4 separate regions of the Homo sapiens genome follow, and regions 2, 3 and 4 are each linked to region 1. Evidence: promoter capture Hi-C in human tissues and cell types (Jung and others, 2019). All regions are on one chromosome and are shown on one strand. The core of a region is centred on a gene start or on the middle of the fragment in contact, and the rest is flanking DNA. Distances in the headings are between cores, read along the strand shown. Region 1 holds the start of SLC24A5 (solute carrier family 24 member 5). Region 2 overlaps SLC12A1 (solute carrier family 12 member 1). Region 3 holds the start of SLC12A1 (solute carrier family 12 member 1). Region 4 overlaps LOC124900354 (a long non-coding RNA gene).

Evidence for each region. Contacts are between HindIII fragments. The study calls those that stand out against the background at their distance.
Region 2: a contact is called between a fragment that was not itself captured here and the fragment with the promoter of SLC24A5 in region 1, in 2 of the 25 tissues and cell types used here (heart right ventricle and mesendoderm cells).
Region 3: a fragment that was not itself captured here is called in contact with the fragment with the promoter of SLC24A5 in region 1 in 2 of the 25 tissues and cell types used here (mesenchymal stem cells and thymus).
Region 4: a fragment that was not itself captured here is called in contact with the fragment with the promoter of SLC24A5 in region 1 in 2 of the 25 tissues and cell types used here (pancreas and small bowel).

The regions. Positions count from the first base shown.
Region 1 is chr15:48,118,654-48,124,221 of GRCh38, reverse strand. SLC24A5 (solute carrier family 24 member 5) reads right to left here and starts at 3,232. Exons shown (of 9, transcript NM_205850.3): 1 at 3,057-3,232; 2 at 2,186-2,365. The coding sequence starts at 3,177. The HindIII fragment of the contact is 7,987 bases long and covers 1-4,160 here.
Region 2 is chr15:48,220,689-48,226,256 of GRCh38, reverse strand. SLC12A1 (solute carrier family 12 member 1) reads right to left here. Exons shown (of 27, transcript NM_000338.3): 3 at 5,492-5,568; 4 at 5,261-5,336. Among named protein-coding and RNA genes, the nearest start is that of SLC12A1, 17 kb to the right of the region's middle. The HindIII fragment of the contact is 4,366 bases long and covers 1-3,655 here.
Region 3 is chr15:48,205,499-48,211,066 of GRCh38, reverse strand. SLC12A1 (solute carrier family 12 member 1) reads right to left here and starts at 4,765. Exons shown (of 27, transcript NM_000338.3): 1 at 4,737-4,765; 2 at 2,928-3,533. The coding sequence starts at 3,347. The HindIII fragment of the contact is 5,507 bases long and covers 1-5,151 here.
Region 4 is chr15:48,048,140-48,053,707 of GRCh38, reverse strand. It overlaps LOC124900354 (a long non-coding RNA gene), which reads right to left. Exons shown (of 3, transcript XR_001751516.3): 3 at 4,160-4,918. Among named protein-coding and RNA genes, the nearest start is that of SLC24A5, 70 kb to the left of the region's middle. The HindIII fragment of the contact is 4,664 bases long and covers 1-4,533 here.

The sequences.
Region 1 (5,568 bases), core at 1,983-4,482:
ATGATTGTTGTGACCTATGGATAAAAATGCCTTTCTAGTTATAAAACCAAAAGGAGAACCATAAAGAAAAAGATTTACAAATTTACTTAAAATATTTAAACTTCAAACTTCAATGTGATAAACACAAAATGCAAAATCAAACAAACCATGAAAAAGCATATGATATGAAGTAATACTAGAAAAAGGGTTAATATCCTTATATATTTTTAAAGTCTTGAAAATCAATAAGAAAGAGACAGAATACCCCTGATATAATATGGGCAAAAAAACACAAAAGGAAAACCATAAAATAAAATAAACATATAAAATATTCACCCTCATGGATAATAAGATAAACACAAATTTTATAAAATAATGGGAGGTTAAAGCAACCAAGGATATTTCACATATTTTTCATGGTTTTCTGGAATGGATGCTTAAGGAGGTATAAGTAGGCACACCTTTTGTGGGATGCCTTTTGCAAATATATATCATAAGACTTAAAATATCCACATCTCTGCCTCTTAATCAGGAAATGATCAGAGAGGTGTGCAAAGATTTTATACAATTATGGGCATGACATTAACACAAAAAACTTAAAACAGGCCAAATGTCCAATGAGAGTAATAGTTTTAAATTTTATGATAAATTTCTACTGGGTGCCTACTATGTGTAAAAACCAGTGTCAGACGCTCAAATCATTTATAGAATCATGGACTATCATGATATCATTAAAAATAATGTTTTTGAAGAATGTTTAATAATATTGGAAAATGTGCACTATAAAATATTGTGTGAAAAAAAGGAAAGATCCCAAACTGTATATAAAGCAAGATTCAAAAGATTTAAAGGAAATATACCAAATGGTAACTGTGTAGATGGAAATACAGGTGATTTTATCTTTCTCTTCTATTTTTCTTGTATTTCATTAATCTAAGTAAAACTGTTAAATAATTTAATCTTTATTAAAGAAAATATCAATTATATATAAGATGTAACGTCAAGATAAAAGCATATGTTTGTATCTACTTAAGAAAAATTGTAATAAATTAGGCTAATCTATCATATATATATATATTATATATTTTCATTAAACAGATAGGTGTTGAGTGCCTCTGCTATCACCAGTTACTGTTTTAGAGCCTACAGATTCTGGTATACTGCAGTGAACAAGGGAGGAAATAATTCGCTTTGCATTTCAGCAGGGGTTGGGGGTGGGGTGATGGGAAAAGGGAGAGTTTACATTCATGCTCTTTCCCTTTATAAAGAAATGGCAGCAATGTGTGTGTGTCGGGGGCGGTGGGTGGAGGTTGAGGACGCTGCTGTTACTGTGCAGTCTTGTGAATATGCAATAGGAAACCCAATCCTTAATTTTGACATTGCTTTTTGCTGTAATGTGGGCATGCTCAGCCAAATAAATAACCAAACATGAGACCAAGTCTAGAAACACACTTTTGCTCATATGGCACAGAACATAACTGCTATCCTGGTGTTTAGGGACCAGTGCACCAGTGAAGGTCTATGCTCAGAATTCTGGGCAACATATACTGCTGAAGGAACAGAGCTCAGAGGCTTGGACCGGCTGATCTTATTTTCAGAAACCAATAAATGGAGCTCTTAATTTTTAATAACTGATTTTACAGTCATCTGATGTCTAAGGTCACTTAGGATACAGGACTTATTCATCTATCTGTTTATTGGTTCTTAAATATCAATTAATTTCCTTAATGGTAGGATGCTGGGAAAGGAAGATGGGGAGGGTGGTCCTTAATTGCATTTGTTTATCACTTTTTATAATCAAAGTTATAGCGAGCTTAGAGTAAAAATAAAAAAAAGTTTTTTGAAGCATAAAATGGCAAATATTAGGAGTTTCATTGTATTAGGAGCGCACACAAAGTACATACAAGTGAAATCTTGGAACAGTTCTTATAACAAACATCCAGGCAGTAGACAAACTAGAGATTTCTGGAAATAGGCAGAAAAATAATAACTGCCGGGTTCTAACTTGAAGAAACTCTGATTCACATTAACTACCAAGAGAAACCACACTCGACCAGTTCCTTAAGACACGGGACCCCACAACAAGAAGCTGGTGCTCTGCAACCAGTTGAGAAGTACAGGACAGCTGCTGAGCTATTTCAAAGACAGTCATATCTGTGTGGCACACTCTCCCAGAAGGTTACAGGGCAACTTTCCAGCCACTTACATTCACTGATGATTTCCAGGGAGGGTAGGAAGTATTCATCACAGACAATAGATATGGCCATGAACATGTAAACGATAATTAGGAAATAGATTATGATGCCTCCATCTCTGCGCTCCTGTCTCGTGAAAAACCCTTCGGGAAACTCCGATGATGGAGAAATAACACATTGGGTGCTATTTCCTGTTAAGGAAAAGGAGGTGAAAGTTTGAAGAGTTTGGAGTCACACATTCCAAGCCCACAGAGAGCTTCCTTAAGAAATCTGTAAGTGTGGGGTAACCGGGTGGAATTTTAAGGACCCACTGAAAATGTATAAAGCGCTTCTGAATATAACACAGTTGTAGAGTTTTCAAAAAATTTTTTTGGGGGACTGAAAAGAGATATCTTAATGAAATATGTTGATGATGGTGAAGAATTAAAAAGAGGAAATCATGAAATCACTCCTCCTTGTTTTTATTTCTGAATCTCTCTTCCCCAAGTAGAAACTGTATCTCTGATACATGAAGATTTCTATTGTTTATACAATTTCGTTTTCTCATTGCAGAGCCTAAATTGTTCACAGGCCTGCAAAGAATCCATCCACTGTTGCAGAGAGAATTTCTAAGATGAAAGATTTTTTGTTTTCACCAAAAAGTCTCCAAGAACAAAAACTGGAGACTTGGCCTACTATGATCTCTGTGAATTACTTTGGAGTATATTTAAGAACTTATTTGAAGGATCAAAAGTGTTTGATATCTTTTTAAATGCTAAAATTCAGAAGCGTAAGTAAAAGTGAGCCCATTGAGAATTTTCCTCTTTTTGTCCCTTCATCTGTATGTGGTAGCAGCAGCAGCAGCTGCTGCTGCAGAGCTAACTGACCCCAATGTCCACCTACCTGTGGCCCTTGGGAGACGTTGGGGCAGGGAGGTCCCTGAGAGAGGCAGATGTGCAGTGGCCCACAGGATGCCGAGCAACAGAGCCCTTCTCGCCCATGTTTGGCCCCCTTTTGTCTGCATTTCTGCTGTGCTCTTACTGCAGCGTGCAGCTTCAGGAAGGGAGAAGAGGAGGATTAAACTGGATCATGTGAGGAGTCTCCTTCCTGCCCAATACCCTGCCCAGGGCACATCTCAGCAAGGCCAGCACAGGAGAAAGGGCGAGTGTAGCCAGTCAAGCTTCTCTGATCAGGAGACCCAATCTCCAGGGAGGCCGGAGGAGACGGAGGAGAGCTGACAACCATTGTCTATAGCTATTTCCATGGCCTACAGTCTCTAAGGGCAGATTAAGGCAGCTTGTACTTTATGAAAATGTGTGGTTTTATTTAATGTCTTCATACTGGCTCTGCTTTTGACTTTCTCTAGATTTGTAAAAAGTTGGGTTTGCAACTGCTTCCCATCTCTCTCCAGCCCTTTCCCCTAGAAGTTGTTTGGGTTGATATTAATATATGTACATGCTTTGGCTAGCTCGGCATCCTTTCATATTTCTGTTTTAGCCTCTCATCTTCATCTTCAGTTAGGGCCAAAGGGAGAAAGGCCAGTTAGGGCATCATTGCAATCGTCTAGCTGAGAAATGATAGTGGCTTGAACCAAGGCTGTGGCAACGGGGATGGAGAGTAGCTGACAGTTTCAAGAATTATTGAGATGGAGTGGATGCTATTTGATCATTGATAGGCTGTGCTTTCTGCCAGAGGGAGCTATCTAAAATGCAAATTTGACGTACAAGGTAGTGTTTAAATATAGACTACTATCTTCCCTATGCTAACATTTATGAGGCTTGCCAAGATATTTAGAACTTTTGGCAGTGTAGTAACCTATAGCTAATAGCACAGGCTATGGAACCAGACCACATGATTTGAGCCCTAGCACTGCTACTTACTAGTTATGTGACTTTTGGCATGTTATTTAACCTTTCTGCTACACAGTTCTGCTATCTGTAAAACAGGGATCACCTGTATTTGGGTTGTGGTAAGAATTACAAAAATGAACGCAAATAATTTGCTCAGAACGACCTCTGGCTGACGTCTTCATTCCTTCCTTTCTTTTTCTTTGTTTTGTTTGTTTTCCTTCCTTCCTCCCTTCCTTCCTTCCTTCCTTCCTTCCTTTCTTCTCCTCCTCCTCTTTCTCTCCTTCCTTCCTTCCCTCCTTCCTTCCTTTCCTTCGTTCCTTCTTTCTTTCTTCCTTTCTTTTCTTTTCTTTTTCTTTCTTTCTTTCTTTCTTTCTTTCTTTCTTTCTTTCTTTTTCTTTCTCTTTCTTTCTTTCAATTGAAATAGAAGCGTTTTTGTTCATAAAAATTTTTGTAGTTTTGCAACTTTCATGGTTCCTTTGCTTTGCAGAAAAAACACAAAAATTGATATGCCTAGTAAGTTTTCTATTTAGAAACTAGCTTTATCTGATGGAACGGAGTAAGTTGCTTCCTGATGTTTGTGATCTTGGGTCGGAAGAAAGTCTCAAAAACTACTTTTTTTTGTGGGAATTGGTATCCATTATAAACCTCTCCAAAACTGTCATTTCTAGGAACTAGATATTCAGATGTATGGTGTGATTGTGAGGCTGTGATGATGAGTCACCAAAGCATAGCCCAGTATAGAGCAGATTCTCAACAAGCAGAGTTCCAGCTGTCTACACTCGCAGGAAGCAGCACCCTGATCACTGGGGAGTGGCCTACATGCCAGCTAGCTAAGACTAAGGGAAGAGGTCGTTTAGTTTTATGCTGAGTGGAAGTGTCTTGCGAGCCTCTCCTCTTCAACACACAGTACTTCAATCAATTCATAAAACATCATAAACAAATAAAATACCAATAATATAAAAAGCTCAAACCCAAAGTGAAAGCTTCCAATGCACATTGTCAGCTAATTCAAGAGAGAGAGCAAGTGTCTGAAGGTACGAGCCAATTGCTATGGAACAGCAGAAGTGCCTTGCACATAGTTAGTACTCCATCAACATTTGCAGATCGATTACTTTGCAATGAATGGTCTTGAAAACACATTGCCAGAACATGCATATGCTTGGTCTAAACAAATTACCATCTAAATATGGATTTACCACGAAAAGAGATTTTAGGAGATGAATTAGATTTGCTTCACACACATTCTTCATTTTGCAAAAGCATCTTAAAGATCTTTTTCTTGTAAAATAACACCCAGATAAAACTACATACATGAATAGTTTACTATATTATTATTATTTTCATAAGATGAACACCCTTGTAAACATCCAAGGTCAAGAAATAGAAATTTGCCAGCCACCCACATATACACCATGGAATACTATGCAGCCATAAAAAAGGATGAGTTCATGTCCTTTGTAGAGACATGGATGAAGCTGGAAACCATCATTCTCAGCAAACTATCGCAAGGACAAAAAACCAAACACCGCATGTTCTCCCTCATAGGTGGGAACTGAACAATGAGA
Region 2 (5,568 bases), core at 223-2,722, 100 kb before region 1:
CGAAAGTGCAGACTTGGAAAGGAAAAGTTGACTTATGCTGGTGTCCTGGGAGAGAAACTATCCTGGCTGTGAAAAGAGAAAACATGACATTTGACCTTCTTTCTTGCTTGAAGGAACTGGAATGAGAAAGTTGGGGGTTTGACAAAGGTTAAATCCTTCCCCATTTTTCTTGCATCTCTTTGCCTGATGGGGGAAAAGAAACCAACTTGCATTACCTTTGAAAACACTCCAGAAAGGTCAGTGGTGAACTGTTAGAGCCTGTGTTGCCTTTACCTTACAAATGATGGTGCGGGTCACAAGTTTAATTACCTCCTCTGACACATCCATTTGTGGCAATAGCAGAGGTGGATAAACCAGTGATACCAGTCACTGTCACGGCTAAGCCGATGATAATCACACCAAGACCTCAGTTGAAAGAGGAAAAATAAAGGTATTAAATGGTGGAAGAATTCATTGGATCATTTACATAAAAACCAGCAAGTCTAGGGTAAACATCAAAGGACCACATTTGAGTTTAACAAGTTGGCTAGGAAATCACCATGGAGTAAATGCTTAGCTTTGAAGTTTTCTGCTTGTAGTAGCTCTGGTTCCAAGAAACTTAAGAGCTAAAATGTGCAGAACTAAGTTGTACAAAACAAAGCCACTAGGGCTGGTCAAAATTTAATGTGCACCCCATCTTATTATTATTATTATTTTTAGAGACAGTCTTGCTATTTTTTCCAGGCTGGTCTCAAACTCCTGGCCTCAAGTCATCCTCCTACCTCAGCCTCCCAAGTAGCTGGGACTACAGGCTTGCACTATTGCACCTGACAGAATTCCATCTTTGGAGAAGTTATAGACACCTATAAACATGATAATTGGCCTACAATTCCAAGCTGTCAAGATAACTAGAGATTAAATGTTCATCCTTCCAGGTTACTATCTTTTTATGTACATTTGGTCACATAGAGGTGGAGAACTACATACAGTATAGCAAATTATTCATCTGGCAGATGGGTAAAGTGGAAAGAATGAAATTAAATTACATTAACTTGTTGACCGTGTGAATTCTGGAAAGTTGCTTATTATGATAAGTCACCTCAAATAAATAAATAACTGAGCCAAAAATAGCAATGAAATTAGAAAGAATGCATGTGTAAAATGGCTAGCATAGCACATGGAACACAGTACACACTCAATGATATTGCTTTTTGATCATATTCACAGTAGTTATAATACTTACTGCTTTTTAAAAACCTACTATATATCCAGCTATGTGGCAGGTAATGTAAGAAACACAAGACACAAATAAAATGAAATTTAAAAAGCTGCCCCAAGGATTTTATGGTTCAGAAGGTTGATGATTATAAAGAGAGGGAGAAAGTGGTAGAGGCCAGAATTCAACGAAGCCGTGACTGCTTTCAGCTTCAAGAAACACATAGCCAGGAGTCTACAAAAGGGTATCAGAATATATCACTCTGGCATAAGGATTATTTGGAGCTGAGACAACCGAAAAAAAGTAGATACAAGAAAAGCTCTCGATCCCTTCCTATTTACCTAAAAACGGGACATAAATTTGTCCTCCCTCCCCTCTCTACCAGAAAGTGATGTCTCTGATTACCAGAGACAATTTTGGATGCTTATCAGCCTGACAAAGGCACCACAGGCATCTACACAACAAGCTTTGCTGACAAGCTCTTATCTTCCATTCCTTTCCTTATATATTTACCTTGGCAGCATTTGCCACCCTATGAATGAAAAGTCCTTTTCCTTTGTCTTATCACCTCTCTACGATTTAATTGTTCTGTTGTTAAGATGATATATAAGCCCATGTTCTAAGCAACCCTTTAAGTCACTCATCACTGAGTGGTCCCATGTGTATGTACCATGTACATGTTAATAAATTCTGTTTTTCTCTTATTGATCTGACTTTTGTCAATCTAATTTATAGGCCCCCAGCCAATGAACCTAAGATGGGTAGAAGATAACTGTTTTTCCTCTCCTACAATACCCTCTCTAATGGAGGCCGACCCAGAATTCAGGGAGAGGGCTGTGGAGTCACAGCCACTGAACTCACCCTGGCTCCATCCAGAATGCTCTGGTCTGGGCTGTTTGGTAAGCTCCCCTATGTAAAGTGAATGCTCCATAGTTGTTGGCAGGCTCTCTCGTTCCAAGTATGGTTAGAAGGGTAGTCAGCCACGAGAGGCTGTGATCTCTCTGGCCATGCTCAAGGAGAAGGGAAAGTGGAAGGAGGTTAAGGGCAGCAGTGGGAATGAGTCAAGGTATTAAAGGCTGGTTCTTTTGAAGCTCTTGGCCATACCCTGTCTCTAACAGCAGCCTCTAGGCTTTTTTGCAGGTTAAGGTGGAGTGGGAAGAAGCTAACTAAGCACAGGCTGCAAACTTGGACCATATTGCTTTAGACCCTGTAGACTCTTAAAAGCTTGGGGTTGTAAAAAATAGTTGGACCAAATTCTTCATATCTATTGCAGGGATACTGTGGTGAGCAGTGCCTCTGTATCACTATGTGGCTTCAGGTCCTTGTGCCACTAAAGGTGATTTATTCTGCACTTGTTTTGCTCCTGACTTTGTTTTGAAGAAGCTTGATAGAAAATGTTTAGCATACCCCAGAAACTCTACAGGACCATATAATTTGCATTTCATAACACTAAACCTACTCCAACCTTATTATTTCCTCACTGTTATTTTCCTTTTGACTCTAGTTTTTTCAACAATTCTTAATTCATCCTTTTGCATTGTATATATTTCTCCAAACCATTTGAAATCTTGGAACAAAGTTTTATACTTTTGAACAGCAAGGGATTTGCTTCTCTCTCATAATCAAACATAAAATCCCAGGGTAGAAGGCAGCTTGGAGAACATTCAGTTCATTGTTTTCTGAAATTGTGGTTCTTGAACCACCTGCTTCAGGAAATGCCTGGGGTGCTTATTAAAAATGCTCAGACCTACTGAATTTGGATCTTTAAAAGTAAATCCCAGGATTCTGCAGTTTCCTAACCTAACTTCCCAGATAATTCTTATGCATCCCTCAGTAAGACAACTAAGCTACCCTCAGCCTATTTCAACTTGTGTCTGCCTGTTCAGAAAGGTACTTTAGCTTTATCTTCAAAGAATTCATTGGGTAGGAATTAACCTGCTCCTTAATATTTAGAAAAGAAAGGGAAACACCGAATGTAAGTGACTTGCTTCAGGTCATACCGGCTTTCACACCTAACTTCCTTGCTTGATGGTTAAATTTATTGGAAACCATCTTGCCCCAGCAAGGTCTCCAAGATAGAGAAGAACAACTAGACAGCATTAGCAGCTCATTCAGCCCTTTGCTTTTGGGAACAAGACAGCCAAAACTCGTAGCCCAGAATGGTTACCCAAGGGCTGTAGCTACTGTTACTCCTGGCTCCAGATTCCTTCTGGCTCTATTCCCAGGGTCTGGGCTTGAAAATGTATTCAGATTTCTTCCTCAATCTACCCCCAAAGCAAGAACAAATAGATGTGTTTGTTTCTTTTCTTCCCCAATAAGGAAAACCCAAATGGGACCCAGATGGTGACTTAACTCATTAAGTTTTAGGTTCATAGCAAAGGCCAGTAAAACTGAGTAAGGTTGACAATAAGTTTCTAGTACTCACTAAAGTCTGTCTTCCGAGAATTAAAAAAAGAAAAGAAACGAAAAGAAAAACACAAACCTCCATTCAAAGGAAAATCCATTGAACACTTACTAGGTAGAATTTTACTCTCTTCTAATATATAATTTAACTACTTCAATATAAAGATCTTTATTAAAATAATATTAATTTTATTTTAATATTTTAATATGATAGCATAATAAACTGTTTAGCAGAAGATAGGATTCTTCATTCTCTACAGTTTTGCAAGAAACTCAATACTGGGTTGACTGTGAAGAGTAATGTAAGATCTGATTAAAGTTCAGATTATTGCCCAAACGTATGGATGTTAAATAAGTTGCGTTAAAAAGAATTACTCTTGCCCTTGGCTACTCTCACACCTCCAAACAAAGTAATGTTTCTTGATGATCTCAATAAGTTACTAAAACTACCCTTAAAAACCTAATTTTGCATGAAACCCTGGAGCAAAACCTTGGCAATATTAAGATGCAGATTTTCCATGGAACGGCATATACTTATTTTGGACCCTGCGGCTGTGAGCATTCATTTGTTATGCATCATAAAACCGGCAAGCAGCCCTCTGTCAGGAACCCAGCAGTTGCCAAACATGAAACATGGAAAAACTATGGGAACTGGCTCCATTTTTTCAATTTACAGCTTAGCCCTTTCTTTTTTGAGTTAGTCTTCCGGTGATGCTGAATGTGTTTTGAAGAGCAAAGCCAATAAATAATGACCAACTACCTTTTAAAATGTGAATTGAGATACCTTCTGGAGTGCTATCTGAAAGCACAATAGAACTTCCATATTCCTGAGACTAAGTCTTCTCCGGAAAGTGAATTCATAATGTATTTCCCATATATGGAATAGAACATTATTAATTTTTATCTCATTAAATGGGGAACTTTAATACAATTCAATTAGATTTTTCATAAAAACTTTACTAATATACTTTCAACAAAAAAGATTTGCTAGAAGAAATAATATTTAAAATAGAATGTAATATTTAAAACATTAAACAACCACTCAAAATAATGTCATTATTATCCATTTTTCATTTAGAAAAAAATAACAGTAATGCACATATTATCTTAGTCATTTCATCTTTCACTTAAAGCTTGTATCTGGCAATATTTGATTAACCTTTGTTTTCTTACTGCTGGTACCCGAAAGTAACACAATTATTTTCTTTGGAAAAAGTTCAACAATTCAGCATTTTTATTAGTCAGGTCACATTTTCACCAGTTTTCTCACAAGTTATTTTTGTTCAGTGAAGTTTTACCAATCATGCCAAGAAGGATACTCTGTAACAAATGAGAGGCAAATGTCAATATGTCCCCCAATACAAATATTATTATCTAAAATTAACATGCTATTATATGTCTGTGTACCTAAAACTCTATCAAAAGAGAGAGATCTCCTTGAGCATTCACCTGTTTGGCAAGCTGGAAAATTCCAGTTTCATAGGAGTTAACTCTTCACCTTTGCTTTCTGACAAACATCGTCAAAGAAGCAAAGTAAAAGGAGCCCAACTGTAAATTATTTCTGTGACCTTCATCTCACATTCAGTATTAATGGTGAAAAAAGATTGCTTATTGAATTTATGATTTACATGCAAAATTATTTAGGAGGGGAAAAATGCTTACCAATTCCAGCTTCTCCAACAATCCAGGAGAGGCGAATGAAGAGCATGACTCCCCAGATGTTCAGCATGCATCTTACCTGTGGATAGAAGCGGTATTGAAAGGAGACAGGACAAACGATAGTGGGACAAAACCCGGGGCTCTTCATAAAGCTGTGCCCAGGCCTTGTTCACTCTTAATCCACTAGAACATTGAATGGATAGTTTTCATTTGTAAACAGAAGAGCTTTCTCACCAGCACACCTTTCACCCATCCAAACTTCACAACACCAGCTTGATCATCTTCCTTATTTTCAGCTTGTTCATCTCCAG
Region 3 (5,568 bases), core at 1,149-3,648, 88 kb before region 1:
TTAGGCCTAATTTTTAATATTTTAATTTGCCATTCCTTTGTGTCTAAGAAAAAAAATGCTTTAAGTCGAAGTTCAGTCTTTAGTTTCATTTTATGTCTTCAAAAGTGATACAATATTCCAAACAGCTATTACATTTATCTAATGCAGCTATAACATTCCTACTGTGTGGTCATTTAGATGGCTTTCTGTTTCTTTTTTTTTTTGAGATGGAGTTTCACTCCTGTTGCCCAGACTGGAGTGCAGTGGCACTATCTCAGCTCACCGCAACCTCTGCCTCTCAGGTTCAAGCAATTCTCCTGCCTCAGTCTCCCAGGGCCAGGATTACAAGCATGTGCCACCATGCCTGGCTAATTTTTTTTTTTTTTTTTTTTTTAAGTAGAGAAGAGATTTCACCAGTTGGTCATGGCTGGTCTTGAATTTTTGACCTCAGGTGATCCACCAGCCTCAGCCTCCCAAAGTGCTAGGATTACAGGCATGAGCCACCACACCCAGGCTTTAGATGGCTTTCTAAACACCTGTTCCTTCAGAGCTTTTCTCCCTTTATTGAAAGATTTACATAAGCCATGGCTTTTGCAATTATAAATAAGCTACTTTTCTCTGTCGGGAATGTCAGTCCTAAGAACAATGTGAATTTATCCCATTTCTTTTTTAATGAAGTTAGAATTCTATTTTCTTTTGTTGTAAATTGGGGAAGTAGGTGAATGATAATATTTAAATTGTGACACTAACTTTAAAAAAGGAGGCAGATTTAAAAATTATCATGTGTGACGTGGTAGAGTATTGTGGGATAGAATTTCAGGTCTTTTTAAAAAAGAACTTTGATTCATTTTAATTCTTCAGAAACAATTGAAATATCTTTTTATAATGCCCTAAATTTGTTTCTGCCCTTTCCATGTCTTGGAAACTCCTGGGGGCTGCTTCTGTCAACCTTCTTTTCCTTTCTCTTCTCCTTTTTCTCTCTGCCATTTTCCTTTCCTTTCTTGACACAGAAAAGGACAGTGACACCGCAGCTGGATTTCAACAGTTCAAATTGCCTCCCTTCTCAAAATTCTTCATGGGGGCTACCATGTTGTCTGAAATTGTCGCATTGCTAACTTCTTTTGATTAAAGCATCAAATATGCCAGATAAAATCTAAATCTTAGGTCTATAAGGAAACCAGCCATTTGGCAGACTGTTGCCGATTTAGTACACAGGACTAGCAAGTTTTGGTGGGGAAAGGGGACAAGGAAACAAAATTAAAAACATGGGCTCCTCCTCAGGAAGTCACTTGGTCTCTGGTGGTAGGACCCAGAGTCAGGGACCCTAGCAGCCAAGGCAAATACGATTTGGAGATGGATTTTCTTGTGGAAGGAAAGGTGAGCAGAAACTAAAGAAAGATTTTCCCCTTTATTAGCATCTTTCCTGAGAGTAGTATTCCTAGACTCTCGGGTGTGGATGATCATTTAAAAAAATATTGAAGGAACGAATGGATGAATGCATACAAAAGGAACTGTTTGAATCATTTTCTTCTCCTCAAAACTTGGGCAAGAGTAAACTCATTTGAATATGTGACATCTAATCATTCTTTTTAGCAGGTAATTGTGTTTTATAAAGAATGATATTTATTCCAAACTGGTCTGGAAGAGCAGGAAGATAAAGGTGATCAGTATATTTTGGAGAAAGTTATGGAAGAAGAAATCTACTAAGTTCTAAGATTGGAGGCCGGGCATGGTGGCTCACACCTGTAATCCCAGCACTTTGGGAGGCTGAGGTGGGCAGATCACCTGAGGTTGGGAGTTCAAGACCAGCCTGACCAACATGGAGAAACCCCATCTTTACTAAAAATACAAAAAAATTAGCTGAGTGTGGTGGTGGCACATGCCTGTAATCCCAGCTACTCAGGGGGCTGAGGCAGAAGAATCGCTTGAACCCAGGAGGTGGAGGTTGCGGTGAGCCGAGATCGCACCATTGCACTCCAGCCCGGGCAACAAGAGCGATACTTCGTCTCAAAAAAGATTGGGAAAAGTGCTGCCTCACTTCTAACAGACTTGGGAACCCTGGCTGTATTTCTTAAATAATGAAAAGTTTAGTCACTTCTGCTGCTTCTGTACTTTAATTTAGTTATTTTTATATGCTTAAGCACATTCAGGAGCCTCAGGCAAAGTTTTAAAGAGGAAGGGATAAAATGCTGAATCTTATAAATCTCTGCCCTTTCTTTAAAGAATATAAAAAATACCCCTACACACTAAAGGCTGTCACCCACAGTATTAACTACAGCAAGCACAAGTGTTTTGCTTTTTATACGATTGACATAGAGACATTAATACTGACGTGAAACCAGCTTGGTATTCAGTTTGACGTGTTTAACCAAGTGTGAATTGAGTGGACTATAATCATATACAAGGTACAACATATTGCCTAACATTTAGAGTTAATTCTTTAGTTCTCTATCCTAAGTCAGAAAACATTTGTGGAGCTGGGCACAGTGGCTCATGCCTGCAATCCCATCTCTTTGGGAGGCCAAGGTGGGAGGATCCCTTTAAGTCAGGAGTTCGAGACCAGCTTGAGCAACATAGCAAGACCCTGTCTCTACAAAAAATAAAAAAGTTAGTCAGGTGTGGTGGTGCATGCCTGCAGTCCCAGCTACTCAGGAGGTTGAGGTGGGAGGATTGTTTGAGCCCAGGAGTTCAAAGCTGCAGTGTCCACCACACTTCAGGCTGGGTGACAGAGCAAGACTTTGTCTCAAGAAAAAAAAAAATCCAAAGAAAAAGCATCTGTGAAACACTTTTCTGGGAACTAGGGACAGTTTTGTAAGTAAGATGGATAGTGTTTGGAATAGACCTCTCCATTTGACTGTTTCACATTCATTCATAGTGTAATGAAAGAGAAGGAAATTATCTGAAGTTATGAATAAGGGAGGAGACTTGCTTGTGTCCTTCAAGCTTACCTTTGCGAGTTGCTCGTGAATCTCAAGCAGGCTGGGTCGGTTGACCTTGGGCCCACTGATGCTGCCGGTGTTACGATAGTACTCTATCTTGGGAACGGCATCCATGGTGTTGTGGCCAAAAGTTTGTAGATAGTATGTGTTTGTGTGAGAATCATAAGCGTGAAAACTGGCATCTGTTTTAGCAGTTTCTCCACTTTGGAGGAAATTGTCATAGCACTCCTGATTCCCAGGCCTAAAGCTGATTCTGAGTCTTTTCTGAGCTTCATCCCCAAAAGAGGTTTCTTCATAATGTGGTGGGTCAGTATTGTCATCTGCAGCTGCACTGCTCTCATGGTTCTCATTTATGACACTAACTTGAAAGCGATTGGTATTACTGGGCACTGAATCCAGAAATACATTGGAAGAGTTGTTCAGTGACATCTTCCAAAATTGATTTTTTACTGAGCTATCTACTTTGTGGTTGTTTTAAAAAATCTATATATTTCTTCATCAAAATAAACACTAATGTGCTTCCATTAGGGAGCTCCTGGCTTTTGTTCTAGATGATTCAATAAATAGATTCTTGATATATTGTCTCCGATATAATCTTCAGGATGTTCTTCAAAGCTGTCATTGAAAAAGAAAATTAAACTTGTTCCAAGTAATACAAATATATTTAGGTAAGGGTGGGATATAAGGGAACAGTTTTATTTTACAAGACATACAATTTTAAACTCATTTCACTAAAATTTATCTGTCCAGGAACCTTAGTCATGTGAGTAATTAAATCTGATAATAAATAACTGGAAAACTGTTCCAGCAAACAGAACTTCCAATGCAGTCATTAAAATGTTACCTGTGTTTGTAGTATTTGCTTGAATTCAGTGCACTGGAGTTCACTGTGACTTTAGAAAAGATGTAACTTTACTTATTGAATACAGTAAGAGCTGATGAGAATATTCTCAGCCTAAGACACAGTTCACTGACAGTACTAAATGCTGAAACTGCAAAGTATTTTGATTGTTAGGAATATATACTATACAACATATAAAATGAAAAACAAAACTTCTAAAAAATATATTCTTGCTAGTTTATAAAAATCTGTACATGTTCAACTTATAAATTCCAAATTTTGTTACCTATGCAACAAGTAAAAAATTATGTTTTAGAATATGCATTTAAAAAATACATCCCATCAAGATGATGTCTCTGTGAATTCTTAGATCTTTTACAAGATCCAAATGTTTCATTTGCTCATACATTTGTTTGTTTTGCAAATACTAACATGAAACCTTAAAAAAATATGAATATAGAAATAAGTCATATATCTATAAGAAATAAGTCATATACCTTAAAAAAGTCCTCTGCTATGTTTAGGTAAAATAATCATGCTCTACTGACTCATTTTAATGAAATGTCTTCAATAATTGAGAGGTTTATATTTGACTGTGAGGTGAATAGACTTCACAATAATTTTCGCAATTTCATAGTACTGGCCTGTCTTAAAACACTTGCTTTAGAATTATATTTCCTTATTGATACCTTAAAATTTGGCTTTTCAAGGGAAGTTCTAGAAAAATGAGATAAATATAAATAAAAACTTGTCTCTCTCATGCAGTTATTAAAGCTGTGTATTTGAATTAAAAAAACCCTCAACTTCATTTCTCAAGTAACCTTTCCTGGGGAAATTATAAATGAAGCTATTATCGTTTTAGTTTTTACAAAACACTTCTCTTCATAGTCCTTGACACCCTCACCTACTCCTCAGAATCTACTTTATGACATAATATTAAGTATGATTTTTACCCTGCCCAGAAATGTTCAACTTACCACCAAGGAGCCTTCTTCTGAGGAAATGTAACCTGCTTCAGCGTCACCCAGGAATATATGGGACACTTAGCTTTCAGCCAGAAAGTTAGGCTTCTGCTTATTGGTTAGAAACTTTCTTGAAAGAGATGACTGTGCAATGATTGGCCTGGAATAGTACTGTAAGCCCCACCAGGTCATTAGCCCTGAGGAAACTTAAGTACCACATCAACTGGTAACTAGTAGTAAACCATTAATCCTTTTAGACAGGAAGTAACATAGAGTTTCTTTAATTCATAAGGAGAATTGGATCCCTTAACAGCAATTGTCCAAAAAATATGAGCATTGCCATTAGTCATTTGGGAATAGATAAATTGAGTTCCACCGTCTTACAGATGAGTCCTAGTGACCTCCTATTGTTTAGCATGTGTATCAAAATATAGTTCTCCAGAGACAATTTCTATACTCTGTAACTAGAAAGTAGTGTCTGAAATGATTTTATCTTGCTTGTAGTAGACATTACCTTGACTCTTTTGCATGGGAAGTAAGCAGATTAAGAGTGGAATCAATGATTTATTGAAAATATTTCTATTTTGGGAAATATGGGAAAATTTTTTTTTTTTGAGATGGAGTCTCGCTCTGTTGCCCAGGTTGCAGTGCACTGGTGCAATCTCAGCTCACTGCAACTTCTGTCTCCCAGGTTCAAGTGATTCTCCTGCCTCGGCCACCTGAGTAGCTGGGATTACAGGCGCCCACCACCACGCCTGGCTAAATTTTTTTGTAATTTTAGTAGAGATGGGGTTTCACCAGGTTGACCAGGCTGATCTTGAACTCCAGACCTCAGGTAATCTGCCCG
Region 4 (5,568 bases), core at 952-3,451, 69 kb after region 1:
TTGCATTAAATCAGTAGGACAACTTGAATCTTCTAATTTATATACATGAAATAGCTCCCCATTCTTTTTAAATTTATTTCATTAGCATTTTATAGATTTTAACTTACATAGCCTGCGTGTTTTATGATATTTATACCTAAGCATTTTGTTTTAAAAGAAATTATTGCAAATGGTATTGTTAAATTTCAGTTTTCAATGATTGTTCATTGCCTATATAGAGAAATAAAACAAATTTTGCATGTGACCTTGTATACTGAGACTTTACTTTATTCATTTATTAGTTACAGGAGGTTTTTGTTTTTAAAAAATCACTACTATGGGACTTTCTGTATAGCAATCATGTTATCTGTGAATAGAAACAGTTTGTTTCTTTTTTTTCCATCTGCATTCCTTTTGTTTTTTTCTTGTCTTATTGTACTGGCTAGAACTTCCAGCACAATGTTGGATGGGGTGGTGAGAATGGCCATCCTTGGCTTGTTCCCAGTCTCCTGGGGTGTGATGATTAATTTTATGTGTCCACTTGATTGAGTCATGGGATGCCCGGAGAGCTGATTAAACATAATTTCTGGGTGTGTCTGTGTGGGTGTTTCTGTAAGAGATTAGCATTTGAATTGGTGGACTGAGTATAACAGGTGGCCTTCCAGAGTATGTGTGGGCTTCATCCGATCTATTGAGGACCTAAAGAACAAAAAAGCAGAGGAAAATTGGATTTTCTCACCCTCTGCCTGACTTAAGCAGCTTGAGCTGGGACATTGATCTTCTGCCCTCTGTGCTCCTGGTTCTCAGGCCTTCATAAGTCTACTGGAATCTGCACAGTTAATCCTTTACCCCTCAGGTTTCTGACTACACCACTGGCTTTCCTGGATCTCCAGCATGGATTTATAAACATTCCATTGTTTTTTTATTTCTCCAGAGAACCCTGACTAACACAGGGAAAAGCATCAAATCTTTCTCAGTTCATTATTTCTCCAAAATTCAATATATGTTGATGATAAAATCTCTCAGCAAACTAGGAATAAAATTGAACTCCCTTAACCTAACATACCTTTCATTAGGTTAAAGAAGTTCAATTTTATTCCTAGTTTGCTGAGAGATTTTATCATCAATGTACACTGAATTTTTTCCAAAGTTTTTCTGCATCAAATTAATGTGATTATGAGGTTTTACTTCTTTGTCTGTTAATATGGTGAATTACATTGACTAACTTTCAAATACTGAACCAGCCTTATATTCCTAGAATAAATTCAATGTGGTCATTATTATTACATCTTCATGTATGGCTGGGTTTATATTTAATTAGTTTTGTTGAGAATTTTTACATCTATATTTTTGAGGGAGATTGGTCTATAATTTTCTTTTACTATCTTCAGTATTTGGTATCTTTGGCTTTGGTTTTGGCTGGAGCCATAAAATGAATTGGAAATAGTTTTCTCCTTTTCAATTAGAGATTGTGAAGAATTTGCATTATTTCTTCTCTAAATGTTTGGTAGAGTTCCTCAATAAAATTATCTGGACCTGGAGATTTCCTTTTCTGAGGATTTTAAACATTAATTTCATTTTAAAAATAGTTATGGAGTGTTTGGGGTTATCTTCATCATATTTGGTACATTTTTGTAGTTGGTGTCTTTTTAGGAATTGGTCCATTTAACGTAAGTTGTCAAATTTGTGTGCTTAGAGTTGTTTGTAGTACTTTCTTATTATTCTTTTGATAGCTTTGTGAATATGATGAATACAATCATTCATTCTTGTATTGGTAATTAGTACCCTCTTGCTTTTTTCTTTGTCTGTCTGGAGATTTATCAGTTTTATTTGTTTAGCTTCATTGATTTTCCTTTCTATTTTCTCTTTTCAATTTTATTTTTTTCTCATATATTTATTATTTTCTTCTTTCTGCCTGCTTTGCATTTATTTTGCTTTTCTATTTTTACTTTTTGAAAGCAGAAGTTTAGATCTTTCATTTGAAATTTTTTTCTTTTCTAACATAAGCATTTAATGCTATGAATGTCTCTCTAAGCACTGCATTAACTATCTCCCACACATTTTTATATGTTGTATTTTAATTTTTGTTCAGTTCAAAATATTATCTAATTTTTCATTAGACTTCTTATTTGACCCATGGATTAATTAGGAGTATGCTTTTTAATATCCAAGTATTTGGAGTTCATGGGTCTGTGGAGACACAGGGTAGCCATATTTGTCAGTGAACTGCACTGACCGCTGTACCTGGGGGTGGCCTTATGTGCCTGCCACTGTGCTTCCCACATTGCCTAGATGCCCACATGACTAGGAAGCACTATGTTCCCAGTTTTTGTGAGTGTGGCGGGCCCCTTGGTAGCTCCACCCCTTAGCTTTGACTATCCCTTGAGTAGGTGTCATTACTGTAGAAATGCACAGGGCACACAGCTTAGGCCCTGAATTACACCCAAGTCACCCTCCTCCTGTTAACCAATTAGGCTGATCAAACTAGAAAGGTGGTGCTGCAAAACCGGATGGACTTAGATATAGTAACGGCTGCCCAAGGTGGCACCTGAGCCCTTATAGGGACACAGTGTTGTACATTTATTCCTGACAATCAACAAAACATAACAGCAGCCTTGCAAGGGATGTCACAGGAGATTAAAGCAGTTGAGAACCTTACTGATGGACCCACTACAGAGATGGTGGGCATCCCTGGGCTGTGGTCTACATTGGGCCCTGATAATCACGGGCAGCATAGCAGGAATATTAGTAGTAGGTTGCTGTTCCCTGTATTGTTGCTGTGGGCACATTTCCCCACTAAGAAGACCCCCTCGGCCTAGCGGGTGGAATGTAAAGAAGATGGCTGCATGGCAGTCAAGAGCAGGCCAAGGTAGACATCCAGTGCAACATGACACAGCAGGATTGGAGTGCAGGTGCACAGTCCTGTGCATTATATAATCAGTTATGTAATCATGTCATGGGTGGGCTCATCACCTGGTTCTGAGCCACTATTGTCTGTGAAGTGCATAAATGTATCACTGACACTGTGAGAGGAGGTGCATAAAAAAGCCATGTCCCACTTGCCTATGGCCTCCCGAGTGTTCTTTCAACTACCCGCCACCAATCCACATTCTCCCCTCAGACCCTAGCTTGGGTTGGAACCTCACACAAACACTGCCATATTTAAGCAGTCAAAAACGCTATGGTTATCACCGGTTCCACCAAGCTAATAGAGGAGATAATTGGGGCTTGAAAATGACATGTTTATTGCTTAAGGTCATACAATGACAAAATAATAGAATCAAAATTCAAAGCTTAGTCTGACTCTAAAGTTCATGTCTTAACCACTGGATTATTTAGGTTACTTTGCTTCCAAGCAATGAGTTGGCAACATTTTGCAGGACATATGGCGTCTCTGACAACTATTCCACTCTACCTGTAACACAAAAGCAGCTGTAGATAACATGTAAATGAATGAGTGTAACTGTGTTCCAATAAAACTTTATTTAAAAAACAGGTGGTGAAATGGATTGGGTCTTTGGGCTGCCATCTGCCAATTCCTGCTTTAAATTATGAGTATATTCTTCAGTTCCTGTTTTCTGTAGACTATATTTCTCTGGTTTTTGTTTTATGAGTTCACTCCAGGTCCTCATAGCTAGTGATGAAGCTTAATTCACATTTCAAGTAGTCACAGATTTCTTGAATCAATCCTACTTCTCTACTTAGATATGTTTCTGTGATAAGATAACTCTTAAACATATTCTTCTTGCTTTAGCAAGACCTCAGATAAAAACATGATTCAGAGCCAGAAGAACAGGAAGGGTGGTTTGTAAGGCTCTGTCCAGTAGAACAGAGAGGGAGAAATGTGGATGATGTAAAGTCAGGCTTCCTCAAGCAGCCTGGTTGCTGAATCTTGGATTCAGATTATCTAGTCCAAGTATACACATGAGTCTAGTCTATCACATCTCTGAAATAATTATTTGATTCCTTCTTATGTGCTTCCATGGTCATGGGACTCTCAATCCCTGAAGGTAGTCTTTTTCATGTCTTCCTCAGAGATGGAGTAAGTGGACCACCCTAGTTCTTGGAAATGTTGTGCATATAGTGAACTAAAAGGTGTCTTTGTGTAATTTGTTTCCATCATCCCACTTCTGGACTTTGAAGCCACACAAAATAATGTAATTTCTTCTACAAGATAGTCTGGGATTGTAAATTTATTTTGCACCATAGGGAGGAAAAAGTACTAGATCTCACTAATAATATCAATGCCAAATGAAAAATACTTGGGAATAGTCTTAAAAAGAAACTCCAGATCCTATGTGAAGAATACTTCAAACTGTTTTTGAGATTATAAGAAAAAATGAAACAGATAGAAAAATATACAGTGGGAAGACAATATATTATAGTAAAAATGTTGATTCCTGCCAAATTAATAATCAGATGTAATGGATCTCATCCAAAACCCAACAATTTTACTTTTTTATAAGTAAATGTTGCAGGTTGGGCTTTCCAGAAAGCTAACTGGACTGAGGTTAGTCGGCAGATCATTTATTTGGGAGAGCTCCTGGACCATGGAGGGGTTGGGGGAGAAGCAGAGCTGGGCAGATGGGGAATGTGATCTGCAAACCAGTCCCAAAGAAGCCTTCCCCTGTCCCCATGGGGAGCACTGCACTAGCTTTAATCTTGAGAGTCATATCAAATAGGGACTGAGAACTGGCCTTTATAGTGTTCCCCTCAGCCCAATCAGTTTGTCATCAAAGGCAGGCTACTTCTGGAAGGAGGCCTGATCAAGGTGAGACAACTGTCTTCAGCTGAGGGCTCACAGCTGAGAGCCATCCTCCAGTAGCACTCTTAGCATCTGGAGGAATAAGTCTTCCTTCCTGAAGGAGGATCTCGGTGGCTCATCACAGCATCTGCCACATGGAAGAAATTGGACAGAATTTCCAACTGTAGAGTTTATCTGAAATAATAAATTGATAGAATGATTATACAATTTTAACCAAGAAGAGTAATATAAGAAGTCTTGCCTCATTAGATATTGTAATATACTGTGAAGCTATCTACAATCATTAAAAGAGTAAAGTATTGGCCTAGGAATAGACAGGTTGATCAATGATCAGAAATGCAAACCCAGAACTGAACCCTTGCATGTGTAAGAGCTTGATTCATAATGCATGTTGTCTCTCGATCTAGTAGGGAATGAATGGTTATTCAGTATATGATATTGTGACAACAATGAAGTTATTATAGGTTCCCTAACTCAAAACTTACACCACAGGTGATTTCAGATGGAGTAAAAATTTAAATGTAAAGAAGAAAATTTAATAATAGAAAAAAGTGTAATAATGGGGGTGGAAAAGGACTTTCTAAGCATGACCTCAAAGGTCAGAATTCATAAAAGAAAAAAAACACTTTAAATGAAGTTAACATGTCAGAGTGGCAACAAACCTACTAAAATTCATAAACCTAGTATTGATTGAAGCTTATTATGTACCAGAGACTGTTATCAGGACATGATATGACTTGATATCTAACCCAATGATCAAGGTACTATTACGATTTCTATTTTATAGATGAGGGAACTGAGGACTAGAAAGATCAAATAATCTA